Linked DNA regions of Homo sapiens: all the other regions are linked to region 2. The links are contacts of gene promoters, found by promoter capture Hi-C in blood cells and fetal thymus (Javierre and others, 2016). All regions are on one chromosome and are shown on one strand. The core of a region is centred on a gene start or on the middle of the fragment in contact, and the rest is flanking DNA. Distances in the headings are between cores, read along the strand shown. Region 1 has its middle 41 kb from the start of LINC01548. Region 2 holds the start of EPCIP (exosomal polycystin 1 interacting protein). Region 3 holds the start of IL10RB (interleukin 10 receptor subunit beta). Region 4 has its middle 12 kb from the start of LINC01548. Region 5 holds the start of LOC105372787 (a long non-coding RNA gene).

What was found. The method cuts DNA at HindIII sites, captures the fragments that hold promoters and counts their contacts. A CHiCAGO score of 5 or more calls a contact.
Region 1: a contact is called between a fragment that was not itself captured here and the fragment with the promoter of EPCIP in region 2, in 3 of 17 cell types (total CD8 T cells, M2 macrophages and M0 macrophages). The highest score is 5.3, in total CD8 T cells.
Region 3: the fragment with the promoter of IL10RB here is called in contact with the fragment with the promoter of EPCIP in region 2 in 6 of 17 cell types (M0 macrophages, naive CD4 T cells, non-activated CD4 T cells and 3 more); the score reaches 9.5 in M0 macrophages.
Region 4: a contact is called between a fragment that was not itself captured here and the fragment with the promoter of EPCIP in region 2, in 3 of 17 cell types (M1 macrophages, M0 macrophages and M2 macrophages). The highest score is 8.3, in M1 macrophages.
Region 5: a contact is called between a fragment that was not itself captured here and the fragment with the promoter of EPCIP in region 2, in 10 of 17 cell types (total CD4 T cells, M0 macrophages, naive CD8 T cells and 7 more). The highest score is 8.8, in total CD4 T cells.

What each region holds. Positions count from the first base shown.
Region 1 is chr21:33,126,269-33,131,448 of GRCh38, forward strand. No RefSeq gene overlaps it. Among named protein-coding and RNA genes, the nearest start is that of LINC01548, 41 kb to the right of the region's middle. The HindIII fragment of the contact is 4,086 bases long and covers 1,527-5,180 here.
Region 2 is chr21:32,811,310-32,816,982 of GRCh38, forward strand. EPCIP (exosomal polycystin 1 interacting protein) reads right to left here and starts at 2,394. Exons shown (of 4, transcript NM_001162495.3): 1 at 2,283-2,394. The HindIII fragment of the contact is 1,895 bases long and covers 1,486-3,380 here.
Region 3 is chr21:33,263,476-33,268,104 of GRCh38, forward strand. IL10RB (interleukin 10 receptor subunit beta) reads left to right here and starts at 2,892. Exons shown (of 7, transcript NM_000628.5): 1 at 2,892-3,039. The coding sequence starts at 2,991. The region is part of intron 7 of IFNAR2-IL10RB (IFNAR2-IL10RB readthrough); the gene reads left to right. It overlaps IFNAR2 (interferon alpha and beta receptor subunit 2), which reads left to right. Exons shown (of 9, transcript NM_001289125.3): 9 at 1-2,189. The coding sequence ends at 25. IL10RB-DT (IL10RB divergent transcript) reads right to left here and starts at 2,785. Exons shown (of 2, transcript NR_038974.1): 1 at 2,588-2,785; 2 at 2,157-2,427. RefSeq lists enhancers at 2,408-2,467, 2,498-2,567 and a silencer at 2,738-3,147. The HindIII fragment of the contact is 8,663 bases long and covers 2,749-4,629 here.
Region 4 is chr21:33,155,407-33,161,134 of GRCh38, forward strand. No RefSeq gene overlaps it. Among named protein-coding and RNA genes, the nearest start is that of LINC01548, 12 kb to the right of the region's middle. The HindIII fragment of the contact is 454 bases long and covers 2,222-2,675 here.
Region 5 is chr21:33,193,386-33,198,696 of GRCh38, forward strand. It overlaps LOC105372787 (a long non-coding RNA gene), which reads right to left and starts at 2,132. Exons shown (of 3, transcript XR_937675.3): 1 at 1,926-2,132. The HindIII fragment of the contact is 476 bases long and covers 2,393-2,868 here.

The DNA of each region.
Region 1 (5,180 bases), core at 2,320-4,819, 320 kb after region 2:
AAGAGGCAGCTGGACTTTCCGCCCCCAAAGATACAAGCACAAAAAGGATTCCCATACAGCATCTGAAATAACTCTGTTCTTTGCAAATGGATATCCAAATCTGCATGTTAATAGGGACACTTTTATCTTTAAATATAACCTCAAAAAAAGAAGGGGGGACAGTATTCATTTAACTTGTTCACCGCCAACTCAAGAAAATGCACCTTTCCCTCAAAACCAGCGTTCCCTCCCTTGACCCATAAAACCAGAAAAAATGCAGATATGCTGAGTTTTCAAACATCTCATGTTTGCTGCAGTCCTCGTTCGAGGGAGAACAGCAGGAGAAATCCGAGCAAATGGCAAGAGGCCTCCACTGTTTCATCTGCTGCCAATGAGGTTTTAAGTGAGCATCACTGGAATAATGTCTATTAATAATTTGCACTTCTATAGCCCTTTCTTGAGGGTGTCTCTAAGTGCCCTCCCACGAACACAGGCCTCGCTTGCAGGGGAAGAGCTCGACACAGGAATGAACCTCCTGCCTTTGGGCACAGTGCCTCCCAGCTCCTGTCTCAGCACAGAGGCACTTTGTCTTTAAAACTCCAGCAAAATGGGGCCTGGGAGAGGTTTTTTTTGTTTTTTGGTTTTTTTTTTTTTTTGGATATATGTTTTATATATATATATATATATGTATACATTACGCAATTACAAATATAGGTCCCATGACACGCAGGATAAATATGGAATGCAATATCTTCAGATTATTTTCTTTCTCTATTTTTTCTGTCTCCTGCCTCCCCAACACACAAAATTTGAGGACTTTCGTTAACTATTTTAGTAGTCTATCAAACCAAGTGCCTGGTAGATTTCAGTATGGGGGAGTAGTGACAGTGGCCGCAAGAAAGGATCAGATGCAGCCACGATCGTTGTCAGAGATAAATAAACACGAAATAGTGAAGGAAAATGGGACAAGCACGCAGCAGTTTGCAGCCTGGACCAATCACAGTGATGCCTCTTGTGGTGGCCTGGAGCCCTCTGCACAGTCCGGAGAAAAGACTGCCGTGGGGATCGGTTTCTGTTCCGAGAGTACATAGCAGAGTGAGGCTGCTGGGGTTGAAGCCGCTTGTTTGAGTTTTCCAGCTCTAATCAGATCGTCCTCCAAAGAGGGAAGTCTCTAAGGAACCAGGAACACAGACCACATCTGCTGGTCACTTCTTTTCCCCCTCGTAGCTTCCAGCCACAGTCCCTCAATCAACAGCGCCCCTTACTGGCCAGAGGGTTGCAAACCCAGAGGGTACTGGGGTGTCTCAGATAACCGCTGGCAACCTGGAAATGGACATATCTGTATCATCCATCTCCAGTTATAGAATTTTGAACACACTATCGAGAGCAGCTGTTGCAATCCCAGCTCAAGTCTCACGGCCATCCCTCTGTCTTGAACTTGGTCTTGGCGAAGTCAGGTCTCTCTGTGGGAGTTTTATCATCAGGGGAGCTGCTTCTCCCAAGAAACCAATAACCACCAATACTGTGTGTGATCTTAGCAGATCCAAAGCTTCGAGAAGCCTTCATCAAGATCAGACATTGCGACAGGAGAATCCTGTTCCCTGCAAACAGGATGGATTTGGATTCTAAGTGGTTGAAGTCACAGAGCGGTCATTAAAATAACAAAGAGGCACTGGCCTTTTTCAAGCACCTTTCTGGACTTCTCCAAAGAAACCCTGCTGATGAGAGGGCACAGGGTTCATTAGCAATCATCTTGGGTCAGCTGATGACAGGAGTGAAGCCAAGGCTGGCACGGGCGACGACAGAGCAGGCGAGCAGAGTTGACCTGGGTTATTTTAGGTGAGGAGGTGGGCGCAGAGGGAGACAGAGAGGTGGAGGGAGTTTATTTTGGTTGAGGCACTTTATTTTGCTTTCTTGCTTGTGAGGATTCATTTCCCCTGGGTAATTTAAAGTTTGTAAGAACCTTGGAATTCCTTGGAGAGAAAGCACCATTGCAAATAAAGAGGCCACAGCACTAGTGATGGTGGAGAAAGTGGCCAATGCCGTATCTTTAGATGCTTGGGTTTTGGGTTGGGTAGAGTTTTTCGGCACGTTTGGGAAGTGGCTTCTTATATGCCCAGCTCTAGTTTGGGGGCTTCCCATGTGTTTTTGTGTCTAACATGTATTGTTCTCAGCACTGTGCTGATTTTCCATGTGTTCATTCATTTAATTCTCACAACAACCAAAATGCGTTAATTCATTCATTCTGAATCAACTTGTTTAATCAAGAGAATTTGACAATGCCCACCCCCTCTCCCTTGGAAAATAAGGGTTAGCCTAGCAGACTGCTCAGGGTCAGGCTTCTTAATCCCTTTCAATGCCATTGTCAATATATTGAACCCTATTCAGGAATCAGCAATGACTTTCCGTGCCTGCTCCATCAAGTCTCATTTCCTCTGCCTTGCTCAAAAAACCTTTTATAACCCTCTTTATAATGCTCCCACTTCCTCTTCTTCCAGCTGCACCTCTACTTCTCCAAACAAATGTAGAATCCCCATGGCAGTGAGTCGAGTGTCCTGGGTGAGGTGGGAGCTATTGTTCATAATCCATGTTGCTATTGCCCAGTAAGACACATTGCACCCCACAGAATATACCCATTGCCTTTTCTTCAACTTTGGGGGACATACCGAGTCTTCACTATACACAGAGTCTGCAGGTAGATAGAGATCTCTCAGTGGCTTTTCTAGGCAACTTGTTCCCGCTACCCCAGTAGGTATGGACATAACCTCAGCTCTCGACTCTCGGGGAGCACCATCTGGTCATCCATGTGAAAAGAAGAGACAACTCTACCCTGTTATAAAAACATGCCTGACACTTGGAAATAAAGCAAGGGAGGACTGCCCTTCAGTGCCAGCCTGGAGCACTCAGGGTCATCACATTCCCCAGGGGATATGCCTTTGCTTGACCCATTCATTATTGGGCCCAGATTCTGATGTTACATGTTAACTTGTAGATTTTTACAAAATAATTTCCCTTTTTCTTTTTTATTTTTCTTATTTATTTTATTATTATTATTATTATTATTATTATTATTATTTTTGAGATGGAGTCTCACTCTGTCGCCCGGGCTGGAGTGCAGTGGTGTGATCTCGGCTCACTGCAACCTCTGCCTCCCGGGTTCAAGAGATTCTCCTGCCTTAGCCTCCTGAGTAGCTGGGACTACAGGCACATCCCACCACGCCCAGCTAATTTTTGTATTTTTAGTAGAGACGGGGTTTCACCATGTTGGCCAGGCTCATCTCGATCTCTTGACCTCATGATCCGCCCGCCTCAGCCTCCCAAAGTGCTGGGATTACAAGTGTAAGCCACCGTGCCCGGCCTCCCTTTTGATTTCTAAATAATTTTAAAATTTTAGAAATGTTGCAAGAATAATGCAAAGACCTGTTTTTCCTAATTCACTTGAGTAATAAGTTGCTGACATGATGCCCATCACCCTAAAATACTTTAATGTGTATCTCCTATGATTGTGAAAGTCACCCACTTTCATGATCTAAATACAACCACCAAAATGAAGAAATTAACATCGGTACATACTATCATCTCATTCTCAAATGCCATCCACACTTCTCTAGTTGTTTCAATCTCACTAAACTTTTATAGGCAAGGGACCCAATCCAGGATTGCTCATCACACAGAGTTGTCCCATCTCTTTAGTCTCCTTCAATCTAGAACAGTTTCTATCTCTCATGACCTTGACACTTTTGACAATAATAGGCCAATTATTCCGTAGATGTTCCTTAGTGTAGGTTTTTCAGGTGATGCCTTATTATGAGGGTCAGGGATGTCTTTGGCAGAAACATCATCATAGAAGTGATGCTGGGTTCATCTTGTATCTGGCCAAGTGGCACACAATTTTAATTTACCCCAGTCCTGGTGACTTACATGTAAACGAAATAATGAAGGTGATGTTGTCCATGTGCCTCCGCTGTAAAGTTACTTTTTTCCCCCTTTGTAACATACAAGGATCTTGTGGGGAGGTACGTGAGCCTTTGCAAATATCCCATTCCTCATCAGACTTCACTCACTGTTTTTAATATCCACCAGTGTTTCTTCGTTGGATGATTATGATGGTTGCCAATAAATGATTTTCTAATTCCATCACTTTCCTAATATTTATTAGTTGGAATTAGTAATTTTTGTGTAGAGATAGGGTCTCACTATGTTGCCCAGCCTGGTCTCAAACTCCTAGGCTCAAGCAACCCTCCCACCTCAGCCTCCCAAAGTGTTGGGATTCAGTTGTGAGCCACTGTGCCCCGCCATATTAGTTAGAATTCTGCTTTTTCCACTTATACATTCATCTGTTTGTTTATATCGGTAGGAACTCAAGCGTACTTATTTTACTTATCAGGTGATACTCTGCTCCTATCGTTATTCATTTTTATGCCTCAATTATCCCAGTTCTGGCCGGTAGGAGCTCCTTCACTCTGGCTTCTGGGTTCTCCGGACATGTGCCTATAATTCTTTGAGCCCTTCTTTACTTCCTGGCACAAGACGTTCTAGCTTCATCTTGTACTTTCCCTGACTCCTCATCCAGCCTTGGAATTGACCATTTCTCCAAGGAGTTTGGGTTCCTTTAAGTGGGGACTTTAGGAACCAAGATCTGAGCACTGATGTATTGTCTGCTCCCGGGTGGCACTGTTCCCAGGCCCTCCCAGTGAACGGAACTAGGCTACATTTATATACGAGTTGACACTGACACTTCCAATTCCAGTCCAACACCAAAGGGCTTATTCTAGGATTTTTCCCTTCCACATGTGTAACTCCCTTCTTCATTGATGAGAAACCTGGTTCCCTCATCGACCTTAACATACATGATGTTCATAAGGTCCAGAAACAGTTAAATATATATAATATTATTAAAGCCATCTCCAGTCTGTAAAGTAATAATCATAATGTTGTTTTCTATGCATTCAGAATCTACAGACACCCCGTATTGGTTATTGGACCTGTCCTTCAGTGTGTATACAGTGCCACCCTGGCACCCCTCGCAGCCTGCACAGGCACTCTCACAGCCCCCGCCACGCCACATCCTCCTACTCCTACTCCCTGGGAGTATCACACTGCCAAGATGACTCCCCTCTGGCATCGCTCGAATTCACTACTGGGCTAAAAGAATGCCTGGATTCTCCTTCCTCACCACGGATTGCACGACCAGATGTCCC
Region 2 (5,673 bases), core at 1,144-3,643:
TTAGTACAGACTGGGTTTCGCCATTTTGGCCAGGCTGGTCTCGAACTCCTGACCTCAAGTGATCCACCCACCACAGCCTCTCAAAGTGCTGGGGTTACAAGCATGAGCCACTGCATATGGTCCCATTTTCATATCAGGAAATGATACATGGGTACTCAGGGAGGTTAAATAACTTGTCCAAGGTCACAGAACTAGTTAATAATGGCTAAAATTTGAACCCAGACAGCCAACTATACTCTGAAGAGTCATGGTGGAAATTACAGCGCTATTTCCTACCCCAGGGTCTTGGGCCTATTCAAGTGAGATTCCATGCATTGTATTCTATTACTAGATGCTGTAGCCTTTAACCTATATGTGTATAGAACCCTCATGCTAAATGCTATGATTTGAATGTGTTTCCTAAAGTTCACGTGTTGGAAACTTAATCCCCAGTGCAACAGTGTTGAGAAGTGGGAGCTTTAAGGGGTGACCTTTAAGAGGGCGGTGCCCTCATGAATGGATTAATGCTGTTATTGAGGAGTGGGTTGGTCACCATGGGAATAGGTTTCAAATAAAAGGATGAATTTGACCCCCTTTCTCTCTGTCTCTCTTATGTGTGTGCACATGTTCTCTTGCCCTTTCACCTTCCACCATGGAATGAAACAGCAAGAATGCCCTTGCCAGATGCAGGCCCCTTGACCTTGGAATTCCCAGTCTCCAGAACCATAAGAAAGAAATTTCTGTTCTTAAGTTCATAATCAGAATAGAGGACAATATGAGCAGAGTGCTGCTTCTGCTAACATAGGTATGGAATGTGGGACAAAGAATTCTCAGAGAGTGAGCCACTGGGAAGTCCTAACTAAAATATGTGGCTACCGTACTTTTCTACTTGACACAGTCCTTGAGAGAGTGAATTAGGCAATGAGTGCAAATCCTTCAGGCTTTCCCCTTGAGTGACTTGGTAGACACTCAGTTAATTGCATCACTGGGGTTCACATCCACAGCTTTGCACAGCTGCCCCTTGGTCCCACGCCCACAGAACTGTGAGGCCTGCCTGTTCTTCCCACTGGGGCCTATTGACCTATTAGCTCCCACAGACACAGACACAAGCCACTGGGCACTGAATTTTAAAAGCTGATAATGTGGCAGCTTTAAGCAGTGAAAAATATTAGTGTGGAAAAGAAAGATGAGAAATCCAAGTCAGCTCTTGAAAAGCACTCATTTCCATAAATACTTTATTGAAACTGTTATTTTCAGAAAATGCCCAATTTCTGTCAGAAAAAAAAGTAATGAAAAGTCTTTTTTTTTCCTTCCAAACATATTGCATTATTTAGACTAAAAAAAAGCAAAAAACTTCTCAAGGATGGCTCTTTTCGGTAAAAAATTTTCAAACAAATGAAGTCTTTTTTTTGGTATTTTTTAAGGGTGGGTTTTTTATAAATATTATGCACAATGTTTTTGAAACATTTCCTGTCCTCAGTATACACCAACATACTTTTTGCTAAAAGCTTTCCAAAAATATGCTTATTAAACAAAGAAATAAATGCAAGACTGTATATGTTCTACTCATTTTGAATTAAAACATTCCCCTCTTCATCTTGCCTTTTGCTACATTATTTATCATGCTTTTTCACTTTTGAATAAAAGACCAATTTTTTAAAAACACGAACTATCCAATCCAAATGTTAATGCTCATCTTAGCTTACTTTCTTTTCTTTGTTTTCTAATCAGCAAACTCTATAAAGCCTGGTGTGTAAATAGGCAGTAAATATAATATTATTAAAAGATAAAACAGAGCAAAGAAACAGTATCAGCCGGTGTTTTGGGAGTTCTCACTTTTCTTTGTTTGTGATCACAATAAGGAAAAGAGATATCATATCTCTTTTCCTTAATTGTTATTTAGCATTGAAGACTAATGGAAAAGTCTAGCCAGATGTTTTAAAATAGAGACAAGATTTCAAGGAGCTATCTGTTATATTAGCTTTAAGTGAGTTTATCTTTTTAGGGTTTAAATGAGAAGACCATGTCATTCTTTGCTTAATGCACTGAAAATCTTTCATTTTAAAGGCAGAATCTCAGTAAAGAGGAATTCATATGCCTGGAAGCCTAAAAAAGTGTTTCATAGTGAAAGCCACTCATACATGTACATTATGTTCAGGAAATGCAAATGCAACAAGAAGGTGACCCTGACAATGGTTCTTCCAACCGTCACAGTTCCTGCCATGCAGCAGAAATTCTGAAGCTCTGAAAAACTGTCAGACTAGACATGCTTTTTAAAAAAGAAGAACACAGAAATTACTTACATCTGAGAGTTCCACCGTGAGGCCTCGCCTCTCCACTCCACAGACCTCTGCCTGGCCACGGATCCTTCACCCTGGCTTGACAGCTGGTTTAATCTGCAAGCCAGGGTGGAATGCGTGGTCTTGCACTTGCTGTTCTTTTCCGTCTTCGGAGGGCCAGCAGCCTGGTCATTTCCATGGCAACCAGGAGGAAGCTGCTGGCCTACCAGTCTCATTAACTACACGCAGGAGAGAACCTGCCTTGGTGACTGCTGACCACTCTTTTGGGGTTCTAAACTGGGAAGTTTCTAGAAGAAACTGAGGAGACTGTTGCTGTAGGCTGATCCCAAAGGATTGACACAAATGGAAGAAATTCTACTTTAGCAGGAAATTGAATGGATTAAATGTAGAGTACGGAGACTCCTTGATACTTTTACTTTCATGATTTATTCCACCTTTTTTGGTCTGATGAATTGTTACTTATGGTAAATGCCTGCACTACTGTATAAAGTGTCCTATCGTAGTTGTTCCAAAGAAAAAAAACTCATTTGAACTCCAAAGATAGACATTATTCTCTGTCTTTTTTAAAATTCATTTAAAAAAATATTAGAAGCCACAAAACCAATAAATAGGTAACAATTATTCTATGTACATTAACTGATAGTCCATGTGGGCTTCTATAACAAAATACCATTAGTTGGGTAACTTACAAACAACATATTTATTTCTGTAGGCTGGGAAGGCCAAGATCAAGGCAGATTTGTTTTCTGGTGAGGGTCTGCTTCCTGGTTCATAGATGGCACCTTCTAGCTGAGTCCTTACATGGTGGAAGGGAAACTGTGGTTTCTTCAGCTTCTTACAAGGGCACTAATCCCATTCATAAGGGCTCCACCCTCATGACCTAATCACATTCCAACATCTCCACCTCCTATGCTATCACATTAAGGATTAGGTTTCAATATATGTATTTTAAGGGAAGATAAATACCTGGGCCTTAACAACTGATGAAGTCTCACTAAATATGGGAAAAAAAGATAAGGCAGGGGTCCCCGATCTCCAGGCCACGGACTGGTACCAGTCCATGCTACAGTAGGAGTTGAGCAGTGGGTGAGCAAGAGAAGAAGCTTCATCTGTATTTACAGCCGCTCCCTATCAATCACATTACCACCTGAGCTCTGCCTTCTGTCAGATCAGCAGTGGCATTAGATTCTCATAGGATTGAATTGAGAATGCTATTCTATTGTGAACTATTGTGAACTGTGTATGCGAGGGATCTAGGTTGCATGCTCCATATGAGAATCTAATGCCTGATGATCTGTCACTGTCTCCCATCACCCCTAGATGGGACAGTCTAGTTGCAAGAAAACAAGCTCAGGGCTCTCACTGATTCTACATTATGGTGAGTGGTATAAGTATTTCATTATATATTATAATGCAATAATAATACAAAGTGCACAATAAATGTAATCGCTTGAATCATCCCCAAACCACCTCCTACCCCTGCCTGTCTGTGGAAAAATTATCTTCCATGAAACTGGTCTCTAGTGCCAAGAAGGGGACTGCTGAGATAAAGAAAAATCTTGCTAATTAAAAGCACTAGGAGTCTGGAGCAATTGATTTGTAATTACCCAGATACAGATTCTCCAATATGTTAAAGAAGAGAGCACCTCAGTAGGGAAATTTATTCATTCATTTATTTATTATTCATCTACTGAATCCTTACCACACACATGCACTGTGCCAGGAGATTTAAGGGGCACAGAGATCAATGTCATGGTTCTTGTCTTTAAGGAAGTTATACTATAGGAGGGGCAATTATGTAAGTTGCATCTGGGAAATGTTTGAAGGGAGATACAGACACAATGCAGGGGAATCCCAGTGAAGGTCGGCCTTTGCCAGGGAGACTGGTGAAGTCCTTGGGGAGAGGTAGTTTTGGATCTAGGCCTTAAGGGATGGCTGAGATCTGCATGGTCAGATGTGGGGGAAAGGACAACGATCTCTCATGGAGTGATTATTTGATGAACTGCGGATCCAAGCTGATGGATATATCCTTCCTCCTTTCTGCACCCAGAGAGCCTGGCACAAATGGCTTCTCGGTGGCCCACAGGATAAAGGAACTCAAGTAATTAAGAAAATTGCTGGAGCAAAGGTTTGGAGGTGGAAGAGTCCCAGGCCTATTCAGCCATTTGGAAAGCCAGTGAATCACAGCCAGAATAAAGGGAATTGAGAATAGAGAGAGGCTGCTATTGTTGGGTGATCAGTTTCAGCAAAGCACATATATGAATTCTACCATGTAAGAATAGCAAAGTGGATCTTGGTTCAAACCTTGAGTCTGTTACCTTCTTGCACATTATTTAAACTTTATAAGCCTCAGTTTCCTTATCTATAAAGTGGGTATAATAATACTTTGTTGAAAGGTAGAGCTGAGGAAAAAATGAGATAATATATGTGCACTGGATGCCTGAAGATGAGGGAGGGAAAGGCTGGCCAACAATACACCGAATACCCCAACTTTCCAGAGCAACTGTGGCTAATCCAATGGTTTGGCGTACTCAACCTCTATTTCAACATCTTTCTGTCTTGCCTGCCTCTACTGTAGAGACTGGAAATCTCTATTATTCAACACAACAGAGTCTCTTGAAGCTGAGGTTTCAGATGGGATTTAAGTTTTATTATTTATACTTGATTCAGAATGAAGTCACGTGGAGAGAGGATCCTGAGACTTTGGGAATGAATTAAGTGAGAAGAGAGAGGAGAGTACTGGGAATCTCTTGCTGGCCAGGGTCTCAGCAGATATGGCATGGTCTGTTGTGGGGGTGGCCTTCTGACTGAGTTGTTGACTGGTTGTGGCCAATATGGCATGGCTCAAGAGCTGAGGACTGTGGCACTAACTTCCTGTTGGAGAATGTGGCCTCTTAATTCAGCAACTTCCTGGTTGTGGATGAGGTAGTAGCTCCCCATGATGGTTCAATTCTATGGTGACTTTCAGAGTTCAGTCTAGAATCCATTTCTTCAGTCCTTCCAATGACTCAAGGCAGTATCTGTATATCTGAAGAAATTCCTGGTTTAAACCAGCTAGAGTAGACTCTGTTGCCTGTAACCAAGAACCCTGAATTATATACTAGTGCCTTAATTCTGTCCAATACAAGGTGACAGAGTTTGGATATATGTCCCCGCCCAAATATCATGTGGAATTGTAATCCCCAATGTTGGAGGTGGGGCCTGGTGGGAGATGATTGGATCATGAGGGTGGATTTCTCATGAATGCTTGATGCTGTCCTCACGATAGTGAGTTCTCATGAGATCTGGTTGTTTAAAAGTGTGTGGCACTTCCCCACACCTACTCCTGCTTTCCCCATGGGACACACCTGCTCCCCATTCACCTTCTCCACGATTGTAAGTTTCCTGAGGCCTC
Region 3 (4,629 bases), core at 1,642-4,141, 450 kb after region 2:
TGGGGATGGTTATATAATGAGATGACTCCAAAACTATTGAATGAACTTGGACAGACAAGCACCTACAGGGTTCTTTGTCTCTGCATCCTAACTTGCTGCCTTATCGTCTGCAAGTGTTCTCCAAGGGAAGGAGGAGGAAACTGTGGTGTTCCTTTCTTCCAGGTGACATCACCTATGCACATTCCCAGTATGGGGACCATAGTATCATTCAGTGCATTGTTTACATATTCAAAGTGGTGCACTTTGAAGGAAGCACATGTGCACCTTTCCTTTACACTAATGCACTTAGGATGTTTCTGCATCATGTCTACCAGGGAGCAGGGTTCCCCACAGTTTCAGAGGTGGTCCAGGACCCTATGATATTTCTCTTCTTTCGTTCTTTTTTTTTTTTTTTTTTGAGACAGAGTCTCGTTCTGTCGCCCAAGCTGGAGCGCAATGGTGTGATCTTGGCTCACTGCAACATCCGCCTCCCAGGTTCAAGTGATTCTCCTGCCTCAGCCTCCCTCGCAAGTAGCTGGGATTACAGGCGCCTGCCACCATGCCTAGCAAATTTTTGTATTTTTAGTAGAGACAGGATTTTACCATGTTGGCCAGGCTGGTCTCAAACTCCTGACCTCAAGTGATCTGCCCTCCTCAGCCTCGTAAAGTGCTGGGATTACAGGGGTGAGCCGCTGTGCCTGGCTGGCCCTGTGATATTTCTGTGAAATAAATTGGGCCAGGGTGGGAGCAGGGAAAGAAAAGGAAAATAGTAGCAAGAGCTGCAAAGCAGGCAGGAAGGGAGGAGGAGAGCCAGGTGAGCAGTGGAGAGAAGGGGGGCCCTGCACAAGGAAACAGGGAAGAGCCATCGAAGTTTCAGTCGGTGAGCCTTGGGCACCTCACCCATGTCACATCCTGTCTCCTGCAATTGGAATTCCACCTTGTCCAGCCCTCCCCAGTTAAAGTGGGGAAGACAGACTTTAGGATCACGTGTGTGACTAATACAGAAAGGAAACATGGCGTCGGGGAGAGGGATAAAACCTGAATGCCATATTTTAAGTTAAAAAAAAAAAAAGCAAACACAAAGATGCTTCAAGATCTTCAGGAGAAGTATGGTATACAAGTTTCAGGGACCCTATTTGACAATTTTCAGAGTGCTCTCTATGCTGATTCCGAGTCGAGTGTGTCAGCTGTGATTACAGTGCCTGTGGATCTAGGCCGGGTTGGGGGGGTGTGGGCGGGGGAAGGGAAGTCTGGCCCGGAGCAATTGCTCCTGCCGGTAACCCCAGCACTTTGGGATGCCTAAACAGGCGTATCGCTTGAGGCCAGTAATTCGAGACCAGCCTGGGCAACATGGCAAATCTGTCTCTACAAAACAAAATTAGAAAAATTAACTGGGCGTAGTGGCATGTGCCTGTTGTCCCAGCTACTTGGGAGGCTGAGGTGGGAGAATGGCTTGAGCCCAGGAAGCGGAGGTTGCAGTGAGCCAAGATCATGTCACTGCACTTCAGCCTGGGTGACAGAACCAGACCCTGTCTTTAAAAAGGGAGTTGGTGGGGAGAGGTTCTAGAATGTCATGTAGCAACCAGTTTAAGGACTGGGACTCAGGGATCCAACTCCCACAGTTTCCCTGTGTGACCCTAGGCATTTGACTTAGCCTTTCTGAGCCTCAGGTTTTTTGTTTCTGAAGTAAAAGGATTGGACTAGGTAATCTCCAAGATCCTAGGAACCCAGGAGAAAGATGAGAAAATGTACAAGAATGAACACTCAGGTGGAAATGCTGCAATCCTGAGAAGCTCCCAGGATGAATGAAAGGCACAGGACCTCTTACCCCTCACCCCTGCCCCCCTCAAGAGCTGGTTTCTCAAACCTTTCTCTTAGGCCCCTTCAAAGGGGGAAAACTAAAAATTATACAAGTTATAGTTCAAGGACTTTAAATAGATTATTTATATGATTGCTCATAAGGATGAGGCTGTGAGGAGGGAACACCTTATTTAATCTAATGAAATTCCATAGGAAAGAGGCCTTTTGTATATTGAATCAATTTATCTGCCTTCTCAGTGCATCTGTCATATTCTGAAAGATTCTGGGTTGATCTTTTGCGATAACCTCTATGGCTGTGAGTGTGTGTGTGTGTTTGTGTATTTTTTAACATTTTGTATAATGATTGGAGGTTGGTAAAAAGTAACACAACAGTACTTTTTTAATACAAACTTGGTGTGGTCTTGAGTTGTCTTCCATTGGAGAGCGTACGTGTGCCACAGATTGGTGCACCTGCCGGCATCTCTAGGATTGCACCAACTCCCTCTAGCTCTTCTTGGTGGCCTGCAGGGGCCTAGGGCGCATTCACTTCCCTCTGCTTGACTTTACGTGGTGTTCTAGCGTCAGACATCAGGCGATGCCGTGCATTACCCAAGACACTGGACAGCTCCGGATCTTCCCGTCTAACCACTAATCAAGTTAAAAAGAGGAAATTAACGCTTTCTTAGTAGTCTCTGAAAGAAACTAGTTATTTGCGTAAAGATGACTTGGTTTTGTGTTGTTTATCCCTGGGGAGAAGGGTAAAGAAGACCCTCAAACTGGATTTGCTGCTGAAGTGCTTTTAACTCACCTGTGCGGAGAGCGGACTTCAAGAGAGGGCGTGCCGGTGCTCCGGACAAAACCTGGGGAATACTGAAAGCCACCACCACCACCGTCATTCCAGCATGCAGATCTCAGTCCTGGGTTGGTGTTGTAGGGCATTTATTTATTTGACTTGACGGCGCCTTTCAAAGCTTGCGAGGATCCCTTCCTCTTCCTCGTGTGCATCTGCCAAGCCTGTGCCCCGCGCCTCGCGGGTGGACCCGGGCTGGTGGGCGGGGCCTGCAGCGGGGTGGGAGCCCGGTCGCCCGGCCCCTCCCCACCCCGCCCCGCCCATCTCCGCTGGTTCCCGGAAGCCGCCGCGGACAAGCTCTCCCGGGCGCGGGCGGGGGTCGTGTGCTTGGAGGAAGCCGCGGAACCCCCAGCGTCCGTCCATGGCGTGGAGCCTTGGGAGCTGGCTGGGTGGCTGCCTGCTGGTGTCAGGTGAGGGGTCCGCGGGGAGGGGGCGCGCTTGGGAACCGGGAGGCCCCGCGAGATGCCGCCCCTGATCCCATCCCTGGGCGCCCTGCAAGTGACTTAAGAGCCTTCGGGGCCTCGGGAGAGAAGATGCAAACGCCACGGCCGGCTGCTGAGACGCAACTAGGCTGCTGCTGCCGTCGATTCTGTAACAGGAGAAAGCCCCATCCGCGCCCGGATTACAGACCGTCTGGGCCCTAAACTCAGGGGGAGACTCCCGGCGTCTTTTGATTCCCTGTCCTCCTGCAGCTCTCTGCTGGCGGGCGTCTAAATAAAGTAGCTTCCCCAAAAGACCCAAGATCCCACCGTGGCTGTCATCTGACCCTTCTGGAGACTATCAGTTCAAGTGGAGGCCCCCACCAGTCCCCGAGTGCCCTGACAGCCCTCCCTGACCCCAAGTCTGCCCCCTCAGTGCCAGCCCTCCCTACAGATGTGCCTCCCATCACCCGCTGCACCTCCCCTCCTTCCGGTTCAGGCCCGAGCACCCTGAAATCTGGATTCTGTCCCCCAGCGCCCCAGCTCCATGGCTTCTAAACCTAAATCCATTGAAACCTTTTCTGTCCTCTAAATTGACTGCCTAGGTTCCAATAACACCATGGTCACCTCCTTCCTTTCTCATGAACTCTTCCCTGGCCTTCCGGGATACCCCTCCGGTTTCCCGCCCTGTCAGGCTGTCTCTGCTTGGGACCCTCCTGCTCTGTCAGGTTTCTATGTAGCTAATTGTGATGCCCAAGGCCTTTTCTCTCCTTCCCTGGCACTGTTCCTTTGGGGGATTTCAGCCAAACCCTGGCATTAAACACGGGCTATAGGCCCATGACTCGCACATTTATATCTCTCTTGGTACCAGTTGGGTGATGGGTGGTGGTTTATTATAGTCTTCTACTTTTCTACTTGCATGTAGGTTTCAAATTTTCTTTTCTTTCTTTCTTCTTCCGTTTTTTTTTTTGTTTGTTTGTTTTTTTGTTTTTTTGTTTTTTTTTGAGACAGGGTTTTGCTCTGTTGCTGTGGCCCAGGCTGGAGTGCAGTGGCTTGATCTTGCCTCACTGCCACCTCCGCCTCCCGGGTTCAAGCGATTTTCCTCCCTCAGCCTCCCGAGTAGCTGGAATTACAGGTGTGTGCCACTACGCCTGGCTAATTTTTGTATTTTTATTGGAGATGGGGTTTCGCCATGTTGGCCAGGCTGGTCTCGAACTCCTGACCTCAGGTGATTCACCTTCCTCAGCCTCCCAAAGAGCTGGGATTACAGGCGCGAGCCACCATGCCTGGCCAGGTTTCGAATTTTCTATTAAAAGGTTTGAAAATAATTTCTGTCTCTAGCCCACATCTCTTCTTGGTGTGACCTCTGGGCTCATTCATCTGGCTGTCTCCCTGACATTCCTACTTCAGCCTCTCTCCAGCATCTCCAACCTAATGCAGCTCAAATGGGACTCGTGAGTTCCCCAGCTGAGCTCCAATCGGGGCACCAGCTGCTTAAGCCCAAAATGGACATTGACCTCAGCTTTTATGCATCAAATGTATCAGGAAGTCTCCAGTTTGTTTTTACGTCTGGAAATATAT
Region 4 (5,728 bases), core at 1,199-3,698, 340 kb after region 2:
ACATTTGAGCTGAATCTTGAAGAGTTTAAAAAAAAAACACACACACATGAGGTGAAGGCATGGAAGAAAACATGTAGAAAGAAGGAAAACCCATCATTCTTTCCACTACTGAGCACACAGCATAAGCCAGACGTGGTAGTAGGTGCTGGAGACTCTGACATACGCAGGAAACTATGGGCGTGATGGTATTTTATTGAGGAATATGCTGTGAATGCCATGTGGCAATTTAGCAAATGAGGCTCTGAAAAGCAGCTCGTTTATAACTTGGCAGTTACTGACATGTGAATGTCAAATACAGACATGCACTTTGCCACATTTAGTCCTTCAGGGTTCGCTGGGACCAGCATGCATTCCACAGGAAACAAAAAAAGAGATCCAGAGGGAAAACGTGTTGCTAATCCAAGTATTTGAATAATATTTATCATGCGTGGAGTACATGCAAAGCACCTACTGAATGCTCTTTGTGAGTTAAAGAGGTTGGCAGATTTGAGTTTATGCAAACCAATATAATATGACAACATGATATCATTATGTCTATTATATTTATAGAATTATATTAACTTTATGTTATGTAGTTTTGCAAACAAGGTCCTGTCTATAATAATAGCAATTTTATTTTATTTATTTATTTATTTTTTAGACAGAGTCTTACTCCATCACCCGGGCTGGAGTATAGTTGGTGCCGTCTCGGCTCACTGCAAACTCCACCTCCCAGATTCAAGCGACCCTCCAGCCTCAGCCTCCTTAGTAACTGGGATTACAGACATGCACCACCACATCCAGCTAATTGATAACAGTAATTTTATTTATTTATTTATTTGACAGAGTCTCGCTCTGTCACCCAGTCTGGAGTACAGTGGCATGATCACTACAACTTCTGCCTCCTGGGTTCAAGCAATTCTTCTGCCTCAGCCTCCCAAGGAGCTGGGATTATAGGTGCGCACCACCACACCCAGCTAATTTTTGTATTTTTAGTAGAGACAGGGTCTTGCCATGTTGGCCAGGCTGGTCTTGAACTCCTGATGTCGGGTGATCCACCGACCTTGGCCTCCTACAATGTTGGGATTACAGGTGTGAGCCACCATCCCCGGCTGATAATAGTAATTTTAAATACTCAACACAAATATTATTTTTAACCCCTGCATCTTCCTTCAGATCTGAGAAGTTTCTTGAAGACCATCAGCATCTTCAGTGGGCGACTGGAAGATACACTGTGGTTACCTGGGAGGCAGCCCAGCCTGGACCAGCAACCCAACCTGCTTCTTCAGAGCAAAACAAGAACTAGGAATCATCTTTTCACCTGGGAAGGAATCAAGTAAAAAGCAAAATTGAACTAAAGGCAAGGGTGACATAATTTGTATTACATATAAATGACCAGAAACCACTGGTGGCCACAAAGTTTTACTTTGAGCTAATAAAACATATGCATGCATCTAGTGTAAATCTAAGAGTCTAAGGATGTTACAAGCCTGTTAAAGACCCTATTAACTCCATTCTTCCTAGATTTCCAGTATATTCTTCTTCTGAGATGTCACTTTGCAAATTTAGTTTTAACCTAAAATGTTTTAGCAAAAAATGGTGAACATATTTTGGCAAGATGTCATTCATATAGTTTAAAATAGTGCTTTCTAGGTATGAAATGACATCTGTGAGAGCCCCACCACTCACAAACCCTAACACACACTTTCCCTTTTGAAAATAATTTCGTATCTGAGTCACAGCTCCCTGCACATGCTTAACTTAAAGTGACTCCAAAATACGCCATAAATATTAACTAATTAATCCCCATGACAACACAGGGAAGCCCTGAAAAACTCTGGAGAGTGCCCATGGCCTGGGCAGCAGTGCCACAGCTTGATTTTTAAGAATCTTGTTCTTTCTAGGCTTTCTCTGATCAGGACATCCCTTATTGCCTTCAAAAAACAAGACAAAACAATGACAACTCAAGAATGTGGCAGTGGTGACTGCTGCTGCTGCTTCCCTTCCCTCCTCCTCCTCCCTCTTTCTCCTCCTCCTCCCTCTTTCTCCTCCTCCTCCCTCTTTCTCCTCCTCCTTCCTTCCTCTCTCTTCTCTCTCTCTCTCTCTCCTCCGCCCCACCCCACCAAAAGCAGAGCTGTTTATCCTTGGTGTTGACTATCAGACCCCGAGCTTGTAATTCAGCACCAAGGACACCTCTCATGCTTTTGGAAACTGCTAGACAGTCTACCCTGTTATAAATTAAAGCTTTGGTTTAAAGATCACCACGAAAACCAGCCCACCAAGAAAAGTATTCCCTGCCTCAACCATAATTGCAGTGATGACTTTCAGGCAAAAAAGTATATCTATATCTAATTATCTATATGTATTGTAATTATATTAATTAATATTTTAATTTATTTTAATTAATTCATAAATCTTAAATATAATCCATACTAAGCAAATGCCTGCTGAATGTTTGTATTTATAGTATAAAATAAAAGGCTCAAATGTCCAGGTGTTTGGGACCTCAGGGAGTGGCTGAGACCACATGGTCTTCATTTCACAGATGATGGAGCCAAGCTCCATTGAGACGATGGCATCTGCCTGGATTCCAGGAACTGGGGACTATTTTCTACCGACCACTCCTTCCATTATGTCTTTCACTAATATTAGGAAATCAGCCTTATGCTACAAGTGTTTTTATTTCCCTCCTGAGAAGCTTTCCCCTGTTGATAATTTTTTTCGAAAGCAGGTTTTTGAAAGAACATCTCCTTAGGGATTTATTATAAGTTAGCAACTTATGAAACTTTTGTATCCCCTTCACCCAGCCCCCACTTGTTGTTTATGCCCATTTTGCTTTAGAAGATAATAGGTCTTTTAGCTAACGAGCCTCTTGTTAAAAAAGGTAACATAAGTTAGAAAAGGTAAGGTCAAGGGCAGACCTGGGAATAGAAAGAGTGAGACCAAGAGAAACAAATGGCTCTGCATAATAATAATTAAAAAGTAGGCGCTTTCAGTTTTCTTTGGGTTGGCACAAAAGATGGGCATTACATTGAGAGTAATAACCTGAGAATTTTGGAGGTGGACAGGAACTTCATAGGAAGAGTAAAATCCCGGAACCCAGGAGCAGGCTGGGGCCAAGGGCAGTGATGGCTGGTAAAGGATGCCCCATGATGAGTTTAAGAGATCATTTTCTCAAAGTGGCCACAGCAATATCTCCATGCCTACAAGCTCTTCCCAAAAGGTGTCACTTTCCATCAATAGGTGGAGAGTAGGGATCAACCCCTTGAACTTGGGCAGGACTTTTTACTGCCTTGACAAGCAGAATGCACAGTGGAAGTGATGCTACATGATTTCTGAGGCTAGGTAAACAAAAGCAATACAGTTTCTGCCTGACTCACTCTCTCTCAGGTTGTTTACCTTTCAAACTTGGTGGCCATGTTGTGAGGAAGCCCAAGTGACATGAGGAGTTCCCGTGGAGGTGTGCTGCTGACAGCCCCAGGTGAGAGCTCAGCCAAGAATCAGCACAACACTGTGAGTGCAAACATGTGAGTGAGTGAGCTTGCAGAGGATGTGATCCCACCTAGGATGTCAGCATTCAAGACACCCTAGCTGACACTGAGTGAGTATAGGTGAAGAACATTTACAACAGTGATAATAGAAAACTTGTCATAAGTTTTTAATTTGTGCTGTAATTACACTCTGATATTCCCAAATCTTCAATAAAAATCCATTGTACAGTAAAACTTCATTAGCCTTATGTTGGAAATGGTTAAGAAATGAAGGAAAGGGACTGTGTCCATGTTGGGGCAGAGCAGTAGGAAAAGGGTGGCAGGCAGTGTAGCAATGAGGAAACCCTCAGATGTGATGGAGGGAAAAGCTAGGGGCTAGGGTGGGGAAAGAGGTGACAGGCATTAACCAGTGGAATGCAAGCTCACCCCACTCCCACACCTTCACACACACACCAGAAATTTTCAGAAGCAATGAGAAGGAGACTGGATTTCTTTTGAAAACAAGTTTTTAAACTACTGGCTTGGGATGCAATATTGCCAAGGTTTCTGCTAAAAGGTAGCCATATTACTTGAAAACAGAAGCACAAAACAACCACTGAATACACTGGATTAAGTGAACGTACTAGAAAACCACTACCTGGTAGGAAGAATGGCTCTGGTGTGGAGGAGTTACTACAAGCAGGTAAATAAATTTTTAAGGAAAAAGGGGAATTTACAAATTAAAATCAGATTTGGTTCCCAGTAAGAAACCCAAAATAAATCACTTACAAAAGATATGTTTATTTCCATCATGTGGGACTCTGAATTCAGACATTCCAGTAGGGGAATGGCTTCTCTATCATCCCCTAGGATCTATGCTATTTCCAGTTTTCAATTATGCCATTTCTGGAGTATAGCCTTCATCCTCATGGTCCAAAATGGAGCTCCAATCATGTGTACACATTGCAAGCAGCAGGTGGGAGGAAGGAGGAAAATGCATGAGGGATCTCAGCCAGTAACCTCTTAGAGAAGGTCCTTAGGAGCTATAATTCTTGCTTACAAGAGTTGGACCTGACCAATGGGCCAACAATTAGTCACATGACCACACCTAACAGCAAAACAGGCTGGAAAATGTAGTCTTACTTCCAGGAAGTCACACACCTGCCAAGAGTCAGGAGTTCTAAGGGGTGAAGAAAGGCTTTTTAAGCGAGGCAACCAACCACCTCTGTCCAGGTGGCCAGGAAGATTAAATGTCCAGGTGGTGTTACATACAGCTCAACCCTTATCCTACAAAGCATAGTTTCTCACCCACCACAGCCAAGCGAAAGTCATCAAGTGTCTCCTGTTGTTTCCCACGTTCTAAAATTGGAGGAAAGTTATTGCACAAGTGCCTAAGTAGTGCAGCTGATCCATCTGGAAAGGCTGTTCTTAAACCTTGGCTTAAAACACCTCCAAATTCCTTAAACAGCATAGCAAAATCAAGAACATATTTTCAAAAGACAATTTAATCAATATCTCTTACATTGAAACACACACACACATATATACACGCGCCTTTTATAAATACATATTTTATAGCACTTTTAGAAATGGGGGAAATGTCACGAAACAAAACATCAAGAAGTGAGGGTCACAACTCCATGATGGCAAGAACCACTGCTTCAGGAGAAAACAAAATCTGTTTTGGTTACTCACTTAAATACCAAAAGTCTGACCAAATCGAACTGCATTTGAAATTTCTGGTGGCCGTTTGCCTTGGATTTTTGTAAATTTTGATTCACTCACCAGTCCTATTTTGCCTGTAGCATAGAAGAAAATGTAATAAAGCAAGAAGAAGGTCTTTGAAGAGCCATACTTGCTAAAACCATGTGTGTGAAAAAGTGGCAGAACCAGGAGTAACCAAAAGGCACCACTCAGTGGCCAGGGTTGCTTTAGTGGCCTTGCTCGTATAGTAAGATCAATATTTCCACATGGCCGCGACTCACAGGGTTCCCATGATGGTGGTGGTGGTCATGGAGGCGACTCTCTCATTGCTTCAAATACCCTGACATCTGCAAAGTGCTTTTGCCACTTTGAGGATTTTTTTTAAATCTAATATAGTTTCATCAAAATCACGAAATTTTTGATTTGCTTCCATTTCTATGAAGGTCACATAGACCCATCTAACATTAGGTGGAACTCACCAAGATGGTGTTACTGTTGCCGAACATGGTCTTCATAATGTGGCTACAATTCCTGGCCCCCACCCCCCGGAAAGGTTAACAAGAAATTGACAAAAT
Region 5 (5,311 bases), core at 1,381-3,880, 380 kb after region 2:
TACGAAAATAATAAATGGAGAGGAGACTCTCCCCTTGTTTAAATTTCGGAGGTTAGGCCAGGTGTGGTGGCTCACACCCGTAATGCCAGCACTTCGGGAGGCCAAGGCAGGTGAATCACTTGAGGTCAGGAGTTCAAGACCAGCCTGGCCAACAAGGTGAAACCCCATCTCTGCTAAAAACACAAAATTAGCCAGGCATGGTGGTGCATGCCTGTAATCCCAGCTACTTGGGAAGCTGAGGCAGGAAAATCATTTGAACCCGGGAGGCGGAGGTTGCAGTGACCAGAAATGGCACCATTCCACTCTAGCCTGGGCGACTAGAGCAAAACTCCATCTCGAATAAATAAATAAATTCAGAGGTTAATGGCTTGACTCTTAGCATAGACACACAGATGTTACGCTATAGATTATACCAGGAAGAGGTGGGAGGAGCCACACATCCCACATCAGAAATAGCCTTTGGAAAACTGCAAACTGGATTGCGTGTGCGTTTGGCTGCAAAATAAATCATGAGTTTCTCCCAAACATTAGATGGACAAAGGAACAATTCACTTTTTTTCCCCACTGTGATCCATTCACAATGGAGTATATTCCTGGAGGATTCTAAGATGTGTTTTGTTCACTAGAGAAGACTTTTTAGGAGTGTTTAGTTTAGGAAATGCTTAGCTGGCTATAGAAGACAGGCGCACATTCTTATCTGACTACAGAATCCAGGTGTCACCTGTGGAGTTAACACAAGGCCACAGATGGCCGCCTTCAAGGTGACCCTGCCCAGAGCCTAGGGAACAAGGTGAGGGTTGACTGAGAAGGGAAATGGTGGTCCTGCTGAGAAGGACATTCCCCAAGCTCATGGTCTGGTCCACAAGCCATCGGTCACACAGAGGGTCACACAGATATGGGATGCCCAGTTAAATTTTAATTTCTGATAAACAATGAATTTGTTTAGTATAAATAAATATGTCGTAAATATTGTATGGGACATACTAAAAACATTACAATATAATTTAGTACATGTACTATGTACTAGTATATGTACTAAATTTTATATATGTGTATTTTAATATTAAAAGTTAGGCCAGGCACGGTGCTCACGCCTGTAATCCCAGCATTTTGGGAGGCCGAGGCGGCCGGATCACCTGAGGTCAGGAGTTCAAGACCAGCCTGGCCAACATGGCGAAACCCTGTCTCTACTAAAAATACAAAAATTAGCTGGGTATGGTGGCAGGTGCCTGTAATCCCAGCTACTCAGGAGGCTGAGGCAAGAGAATCTCTTGAACCAGGGAGGCGGAGGATGCAGTGAGCCGAGATCGCACCACGGCACTCCAGCCTGGGCAACAGAGTGAGATTCTGTCTCAAAACAAAAAAAAAAAGGAAAAAGAAAAAGAAAAAAAGTTAGTATGTTATACCCAACACATATTCAAGGTTGATCTGAAATTCAAATGCAACTAGGTATCTTGTATTTTTGCTAAATGTGGCAACCCTCGCACACAGCGATTCGCTAGTGGCTTTGGAGGGCAGAGGAGGTAGTTCCCTGAGCCCTCCACGTGACTTTTCCTTCTGTCCTCCCCTTCTCTGCTCAGAGGCCCCTTCCTGGGAGAAGGCTTCGCTGATCACTCTGTATACCACTGCACCCTTTTCCCACACTCCCGGCCCCCTTAGCCTGCCTTTTCCTCCATAACTTATCATTGGATGACATACTACATACTTTGAGTAAATGATTTTTTTCATCTTTATTCTCAGCCCTTTGTATTATGTCTGCCACAGAGTGGGCCTTAAAAAATATTTGTGGAACTGCATGAATGAGAGTGACTCCATGGACAAGGATAAAACACTGAAAGTAAAATAAAGGCAGAACTAAGGTAAATGAGTATTGCCATTTCGACTCACCTGATAGATCTGTGTGTTTTAGTCAGTGCAAAACTCACCTGGCGAAGGGAACACCAATGAATAAGATGACGATTAGGTAGGTCCAAGGTGGGGCCCAAGATTCTGTAGCCCTACCACGTTCCCAGGTGATGCCGATGTAGCAAAGAGAGTCCTTGAAGAGAGGCAGGGCACGGTGCTCACGCCTGTAATCCCAGCACTTTGGGAGGCTGAGGCAGGCAGATAGTTTGAAGCCAGAAGTTTGAGACCAGCCTGGGCAACATGGTGAAATCCAGTCTCTACCAAAAAATACAAAAGTTTATCAGGCATTGTAGCATACACCTGTAATCCTAGCTACTCAGGAGGCTGAGGCACGAGAATCACTTGAACCCAGGAGGCGGAGGTTGCAGTGAGCCAAGATCACACCACTGTACTCCAGCCTGGGTGACAGAGCAAGACTCCAACTCAAAAAAGAAAAAAAAAAAAAGAAAGAAAAAGAAAAAGAGAGAGAGAGAGAATCATTGAAGAAAGCTTGGATCCAGGTAAAAATAAAGAGCAGGACACAACCAGAAAAGTCTGTGGTTCTGTTATATCATTGGACAGTGTAATGAAATGTAATGTGTTTTAAAAAATAAAAATTCTATATTCCTAAATCTTGAATAGATTCCTATTTCAGAAACCATCCATTCTGATGAGTCTCCCTTAGCTCTGAAAGAAAGAGGATAAAAACCAAATACAAGAATAATAAAAACCACCTGTCCAAGATGAACTGGAGAAAGGGTGCTAATCTCCCTGCGACAACTCCTACAACTGTATTTGATCAGGATGATAAGAAAAGTTTTAACTCATGCCTCAAGCAGAGCCACAAGACCTGCCTTTTTTGATGACCTTGAATTCTACAACACAGGCTCCAAACCTCACATCTTGTCAACTCTCACCATGAGAAAAGTAGGAAACACTCTCTCACGTTCCCAAGTACTCACCATACCCCCCAAAATAAGTAAAAGCTTACTTTAAAAAATAATTTGTTTTCAGAGCAGAAATCTTCTAAAAGTTGAATTCTGATTCCGTACACACCTGCGGAGAGGTACTTGCCATGCCCACTGTCTAATATGCTTCTCTTTCTATGAACTAGGGTAGGGGTTACAAATAGCTGCCATAGAGTTACTGTCATTATCAGCCTGCAATCTGTGAGCAGCTGTTAAAAACCCACATTTTGTCTCAATTGTAATCATTCAAACAAATAATGCTTACCTACAGTTCAAAAGAAGTCAGTCTGGAATTAAGTGCTGTTCATACCAATTATGTTTCTTCTTTCAGATGTATGGAAAGGGAAAATAAATTATCCATTAAATTGCAGATATATGTAAAGATGCTTTTTGTAGTAAAAGCCAAAACAACTTGAATCTGACCTGTGATTAGAAATAACAGACATTTGAAATTCAGTAACTTAATTCATTGACAATATCACCAGGTTAGTTATCAATGATTCATTCAGTTTTCTTTTAAGCATTATTAATTGCTTGATACCATTTAGGATCAGGAAACCCTTAGTGCAGTGAAAATTGTAAAAGTTTATGACCTGGGAGGCCCGTGTCTAGCCATGCCTCTGTCAGGAATCTGTGGTGTGACTTCTGACAAGAGTTTTATCCCTCTGGATCTGTTTCCTTGGCTGGAAAGTGAGGAAATCGATCCAAAGATTACCTCGCAGATTCTCTCCAACTCTGACATTCTATCATTTCACACTCACTTTAAAATAGACTGTCGGCGACCCTACGCCAGTTTTCCTTGAGAAACAGCGCCACCTTCAGGTCATAATAACCATAAGAGAGCTGACCGTGAAGGTGCTTCTCCGGCAGGAGCGATTTGCCCTGATCCACAGAAACCCTTCCCCCGCAGTCCTCTGGGATGCGGTCACACACTTGTGAGTCTGCCGCTGGGTTAAGATCAATGCGTATGGACATGGAGCCAAGCTGAGCTAACTGGCCCACAAGGGACAGATGCATGACCTTGGCCTAATTATCACAGCTCCAGCTAACAGTTCGCCCACAGCAAAGCTCCTTGTGGAACCCTATAAAGAAGGAAAGGAAGCGAGGGATATGCTGGATGAACTAAACTCTACAAAACAATGAAAATGGACACACCTCTTCTTCAGGCAATTCCACTTAAGATAGTTTCCAGCTGTTCTTATTTTAGCAAGATATCTACTTGGATATACTTTCATTAAGAAAAATGACATAGTGAACTCTGAAGTAAATATCAGATTTTTTTCACCCAGCAAATATTTATTGAGCAACCAACCACTTGAATGCCAGCACCGTGCTAAAAGCTCTCACAAAATTACTTTTATTGAATTTCCACAACAGCCCTTGTGAGAGAGGAATTCATATCTTCATTTTTCAACACAAGGAAGTTGAGAATGAGAGAGGCCCAGAAACAGCAGATCTGGCAACAAGCTTGAATATGCAGACACAAACATTCCACACAGTCCTCCTCTGAGGACACGACGCAACTGCTCCTTTTCAAGAGCTTATCACTTGGCACAGTGTGGCACCAACTGCAATCAGCAGTGCAGAGGCAAAGGCCGCTAGGGAACTCAGTTTATTTCTCTGCAGTGTGATCTGTATGCAGAAAATGGCCCTATCTTTGCCAGCCATCCTCTGCCATACCTCCCTAACCCACTGATGGATGCTGGGCAGGATAAGGGGGATAAGTTAATTTGTTCCTAAGTGTCTAAACAAGGATCCTTCTTAGAAACAGTGGATATTTAAGGTTGTCCCTTTGATCACATCCCAACAATCCCTAAATTCCATAGGCTTTCTTGGTTGGGAAAGAGGCAGAGCAACTGCTACCCATGGGAATGCATCATATTTGGAAATATAATGTTTCCTGTGCATTACAGAGGAGAGAAGTGGGAAGCATCGCCCGGTGCTGGAGGTACTCCAGCTACAGGTGGTACCCTCTATATCTTACTCTTTCCCGTACCTACATATGTGTAGTCAACTCCAGTTGATGAGATCAGGTTTTCAATTCTTTGTACCCCCCCACTGCACTTTGCAAAATACTGGCACATAAATTTAAAGTTACTAAATATTTGCTGGTGTGTTAGGAAAAACACATAGTCTGCATGCAGAAAACAGGAATTATACAAACTAGCATGATCAGACATATTTAAGATGTCAGCTGAGTTACTCTAGGGCAGAGCCCAAGGATGAAGCTTGGCTGAGGGAGGATAGGGGAAGTGCCTTGGGACCTTTAGATTATGGGTGGAAGGAACAAAAGACCCACATGGAACAAGACACTAGAGTTGGATTGACCCTTTGGGGAAGGAGAAGTTACGATATGACATCTAAACCGCAAGGAAGATGCCAGAAAAAGAAAGAATAATATATTGTGTAAGCAAGCAATTTCTTAATTTTAAACGTGTTTTTATATTCAGGTGAAATTG